2 separate regions of the Homo sapiens genome follow, and region 1 is linked to region 2. Evidence: promoter capture Hi-C in 16 types of primary human blood cells and fetal thymus (Javierre and others, 2016). All regions are on one chromosome and are shown on one strand. The core of a region is centred on a gene start or on the middle of the fragment in contact, and the rest is flanking DNA. Distances in the headings are between cores, read along the strand shown.

Evidence for each region. Contacts are between HindIII fragments. The CHiCAGO score rates a contact against its expected background, and 5 or more counts as called.
Region 1: a fragment that was not itself captured here is called in contact with the fragment with the promoter of SDSL in region 2 in 2 of 17 cell types (M0 macrophages and M2 macrophages); the score reaches 6.3 in M0 macrophages.

Annotation. Positions count from the first base shown.
Region 1 is chr12:113,948,108-113,950,807 of GRCh38, forward strand. It overlaps RBM19 (RNA binding motif protein 19), which reads right to left. Exons shown (of 24, transcript NM_016196.4): 9 at 1,976-2,047; 10 at 726-929. It also overlaps the pseudogene TRE-CTC16-1. Among named protein-coding and RNA genes, the nearest start is that of RBM19, 17 kb to the right of the region's middle. The HindIII fragment of the contact is 3,542 bases long and covers 1-2,700 here.
Region 2 is chr12:113,421,062-113,423,761 of GRCh38, forward strand. SDSL (serine dehydratase like) reads left to right here and starts at 1,319. Exons shown (of 8, transcript NM_001304993.2): 1 at 1,319-1,416. The HindIII fragment of the contact is 13,599 bases long and covers 1,111-2,700 here.

The DNA.
Region 1 (2,700 bases), core at 67-2,566, 530 kb after region 2:
TTACCCTGACAACGGGGCCCACATCAGGTGTTCAACCTACATCTCCAATCCTCCACAACCTACAGCTGGCCTCTGAATAGACATGGGGAGACACTGCGGGGATCTCAAAGGTATCAAGACCTCCCCTCATCCTGAACCCTCCCTTCCTGCCCTTCAACAATGGTAACTCCACAAACAAACACAGCCTGTTGTGACCAAGCTGGACTACAGGCCCTCAAGCCCATGGCCTGAGAAATAACAGCAACAACAACACTAACCTTGACACTATCAAATCTATTTGGTGCTCAGCTTGGATAAGAAGACTTTACATAATTAAGAGTTCAGATACGGAGGAACGCCGTGTAGGTATATTCATCAGGTGAAACCTGTACAGTTACTCAATTCCAATACCGAGTGGCATGACTTTGGACAGCAAGGGAGTATCTCAAAAAAGTCATCCGAATTGCTTCAATTCTGAATTTGGAGAAGTTAGAGAGTTCAGACAGCAAAGGATGCCAGTGATGCTATTAATACCTTTTACTTCCTGCCCTGCGAATCCCTGCATTCATCATGTCACTGAATCCTCACAGCAGCTCAGGGGTACTTGGTCCCATTTTACAGATGAGAAAACTGAGGCAAGAGATGTGGAGTCGTGTGCACACTGGGACTTGAACCCAGGACGTCAGAGTGAGAGCCCGGCTCCCATAGCCGCTGGGCTATCCACGGCCCGGAGGCCACACCCCTACCATATTTGGAGAAGAGCTTCTCCAGATCCTCCTCGGTGCTGGTGTAGGGCAGGTTCCGTACAAAGAGCCTTCCGGATTCGGCCAGGTCCTCCTCCTCTTCGTTCTCCCCGAGTATCCGGCCTTGCCAGGATTTGGTGGTATTCTTTGGTGCACCCTTGGTGGTGGGGACGTTCTTTTCCCTGAACACCTCGATGTAGCGCCCACCTGCAATGAAGAGGAGTCAGGGCTCCAGGGGGAGGCCTAGAACTTGCCAGCAACTCCTTGCTGGTGACTCCAAACTCTTCTCTGCTGCCTTCCAAAAAACACAATCAAGGTGGCAGATGACAGCACCCAACACCTGCCCTGTCACCTGAGGCGGCAGCATAAGCCAAGCCAACACCAGGCCTGAACCCAAATCTCACTCACCCTGCCAGTTCAGCTTCAGCCCTGGAGGGAGCCTGCCTGAGTTATCCCAGACCACGGTGATGCATTCTCTAAACTCCGGGCTGTATTCTCTGGCACTGCTTGCTGTTCTGCCTTGGGAAGGGTCTTAGGTGACAGCCCAGCCCTGGGTACTTACCTGCTGATGATTTATTTGCACGCATAGCCCCTGTGCCTGATTAGGGTGCTATTATCACTGTATCCTGCACAGGCACTACTAGGTGCTCAATAAATACCCACCTCCTGACTTGCTAACAAGATTCCCAAGGCTCTCCATCCTTCTCTAACACAACTCATGTCTTCACTGGGGTTGATGGCTGGATTCAAATCACTTGTCTTGGCCAGGGATTGGTCAAAGAATACATCCCTGGGTATTGTTCAGAAGACCTCCCAACTCCAGGGAATTTGCACGTGCTGTTCCCTCTACTGAACATCCTGTCCGTAGAGCCAGAGCCTACACAACTGTAGGTTTGTGTCCCAATGTCACCCCTCGGTGAGGCCAAAGCAGACAGGACCCTGTTTAAAGCCAAGCCTCCTCCAATCCCTGCCCTCCCCAGGACCCGTGCCTGCTGTGTGTTTCCCTGTAGCATGGATCACACATTTAACCACCTGTCTCTCCCTCCTAAGTCAGTTTACTCTCTGTCAGCCCCGAAAGGGCAGGGATTTGGGTCTGTTTGCTCCCTGCCATGTCCCCAGTGCCTAGAACAGTGTCTGCAGAGACACTGCATTCTTGGTGGTGGTGATGGTGCTGGTACAAGAACGTGTAAAGGAAATGAAGGAACGAAGGAACGCTGTAACACAGAGAGAGCACATGGCCAGGGCTTCCTTACCCATGTACTCCCGGTTGCATTTCAGAGCTTGCTTCACTTCCTCTTCATTGCTGAAATCCACAAAGATGTATCCTGACAGAGGACAATGACAGAGGTAAAATCTGCAGGCCTTGCAGACACTTGTGGTGGTCCCCAGAGGAACACCCATACTGTGCTAGGAGCAGAAAGTGAGGGAGAAACCTCTACCTTGGTCAGATCTCCAAAATACAAAGGGTCTCCCTCTCTCTGTCTCCCACCCACAGCCAAATTTCCCTCTGCAGGGAGTGTACAGACCCCAGCCCGGTGTCATGGATGAAGATGCTGAATGCCAGGAGTTGGAAGCCCAGGAGGCCTTTCTGTCTCCCTCCAAGCCTCACCCCCATCCCCCGACTGGCACCTGCTCTAAGCCATTCTCTGGAGAAGGGCCTGTGGCTACAGCATGAGGACCCACCTAGGCGCTGGAAGCACCTTCTCCACACCCACTCTGCTCCTGGGCACCTGAGGCCTTGACTTGCACAAAAAAACAAGCAAATGGGGGAGTCTTTCCTCTAGCATGAGAGGCTCTGCTTCCTGACCTCTTTGGGCCTCAAACCTGTGAGGCAACAAGGTGAGGGGTGAGGACCATTCCCCTGCTTTTCTGGAGCATTAAAGAAATACTCCGAGGGGCACTCGGCTAATAGCTGGCAATGTCTAATACTTGGTCCAAAGCCCTTGGGTTTTCTGCCTTTAATCACAAGGCTGTTTAG
Region 2 (2,700 bases), core at 69-2,568:
GACAAGACATGAATTTGACCATGTCATTCCCCCCACCTAAAGCCTTCTGTGGCTCCCTAGTGCCCCTGGGTAAGGTCCAAACTCTGGATTGGTACAGGCATCCCTGTGGACTCTGATCTCTGCCCACATCTCCAGCCTCAACCCCACTTGCTTCCCCACCCCTGCCTTCTCCCTCCCAGCCCCACTGGATACTACCCTGACCCTGGAATATATCATGTTTTTCATTTCCAGACCTTTGCACTCCCTGTGCCTGACTCCTGGCTCCACTCAGACTTCCCCTCCTCCAGGAAGCCTCCCCAGCCCCCCAGGGCCAGGCGGGGTGCCTGCTCTGGGTTCCACAGCCCTGCCCCACCCTGCCAGCTGCTAACATCTGATAGCACTAATAAGTGCTCTCTAATGGCCCTCTCTAAGGGCTTTGTGAAGGCAGAGGACATGCTATTTTGTTTGAGGCCAAAGTTCCAGGGATTGGCACATAGTAGGTGTCCAATAAACATTTAATGAATGAATGAATGGTCAGTCATTCATCTGAGTAGCAAATAATTGCTTGGGTTCTCATGCTGCGTGTAAAATATCCGAGACGGAGAGGTGCTTCAGACAAAAATATACCTTTCCCATGTCACAAATAATAATTATAATAATTGTTTCCTTGGCCAGGTGCAGTGGCTCACGCCTGTAATCCCAGCACTTTGGGAGGCAGAGGCAAGCAGATCACCTGAGGACAGGAGTTCGAGACTGGCCTGGCCAACATGGTCAAACCCTGTCCCTACTAAAAATACAAAAATTAGCTGGCGTGGTGGTGGGTGCCTGTAAACCTGGCTACTTGGGAGGCTGAAGTGGGAGAATCGCTTGAATCCAGGAGGCGGAGGTAACAGTGAGCCGAGATCGCACCATTGCACTCCAGCCTGGGGGACAAGAATGAAACTGTGTCTCAAAAAAAAAAAGTTCCCTTGTCCTTGTTTTCCCATCCCAGACCTAAGCTGACCCCAACAGTGGTTCAGCATCCGGGACAATCACTAGACCTAAAATGAGAAGACATGGAGATGCCTGCATCCCGGAAGAGATGGCCCAGGGCCAGGGGTAAAGGCTGTCTCTGCCCCTTGCTGTCTGGGAAGCTTTGGCCAAATAAGTTCCCTTTTCTGAGTTTCAGTTTGCTCATCTGTCAAATGAGACAGGGTGGTGCATGAGTCATAGGCAGTGCCCGGGAAAGCGGTGAGGGTTGCTCTCATCCCCTCTCCTCCTCCGTCTTCACCCGGAGGCTTAGGGTCTGGAGCTTTCTCTTTAACAAAGGAGGAGGGACCAAGGTTGCCGGAAGCTGCCTGAAGCTGGACAGAGCCGGTTCCTGGAAAGAGCTGGTTCCCTGGCAGGCTGGAGGGCAGGAGCTGGGGCCACGCTGGTCTGGGATAGTTGGGCAGGGAGGTAAGGGGTCTGGGGCCAGCTGGGGCCCCTGGGGCTCAGTGTGTGTGTGAATGAGAGGCTGATGAGAGGCTGCAGGAGTTTGGGAGGCTTTGGGCAAAGTCCAAGCTGAGCAGGTGGGAGTGAGAGGGCCTGAGCGTGTTCTAGGCCCTCCTGGGAATGTCGATTGAATTCAGGGTGCCCTGCAGAAGAAAGTGTTGTGCTGGGGACCCTGAAGGGCGAGAGTGGGTTCTGCCTGCCAGAGGGGCAGGGTTGGGCATTCTGCCAGCCAAGGGGCCAGCCCGAGGTGTCCCAGCCCTGGCACCAGGGATTTGGCTGTGGAGTGCCACCAAGGTGGCCTCTGGGGAAAGGCTTTGGGGACAAGTGAGGTGGACAGCACTGGTGGTCCTTACCTCAACTCATAGATGTGACAGGTAAGGCCCAGTGACAAAAGTGACTTGGCCAAGGTTGGCATGACTGGGACCTGAGCCTGAGCCCCCTGCTTTCCCCTGGGTTATTCCACAGCAGGGAGACCCAGGTCCCCCATTTCAGCCCTGGTGGCTGCCATACGGGACAAGAGGTGTGTGTCCCTGGGCCAAGACAGCTCAGTCCCAGACCTCAGGTGCCTGATGGGGTCTGGGGTTGATAAGGCTGTTGGCAACTTGGGGCTTTTTCATTTAACTGATGCCTGCTGTCCTCTTGTGAGTCAGTATAACCAAGAGGGCTGGGGAAGCCTGGAAACTGAGCCAGGAGCATTTGGTTCCAAAGGACAATTGGCAATAAATATTAAATGCATGCAGCTTTCATAATAGTAACGATAACACTAGTATATTAGAGAAAGTATAGCATCGCGGTTAATAGCACAGATGCCAAAGACACTGCCTGGTGTGAATTCTGGCTATGCTGTTTCTAACTGTGTGAACTTGGATAAGTTACTTAATCTCTCTGGACCTCAGGTTCACTGTTTATAAAATGGAGTCAATGGTGAGTTAATGACTCATCTGTTGTGAGCCAACAGGTGGCTCACACCTGTTATCCTAGTGTTTTGAGAGGCAGAGACAAGAGATTTACCTGAGGCCAGGAGTTCAAGACCAGCCTGGACAACTCAGCAAAACTGCATCTCTATAAAAATTAAAATATCAGCCGGATACAGTGGTGCATGTCTACAGTTCCAGCTACTCAGGAAGCTGAGGTGGGAGGATTGCTTGAGCCCGGGACTTCAAGGTTACAGTGAGCCATGATCGTGCCACTGCACTCCAGCCCAGGCAACAGAGTGAGACCTTGTCTCTAAAACAAACACCAAAAAAA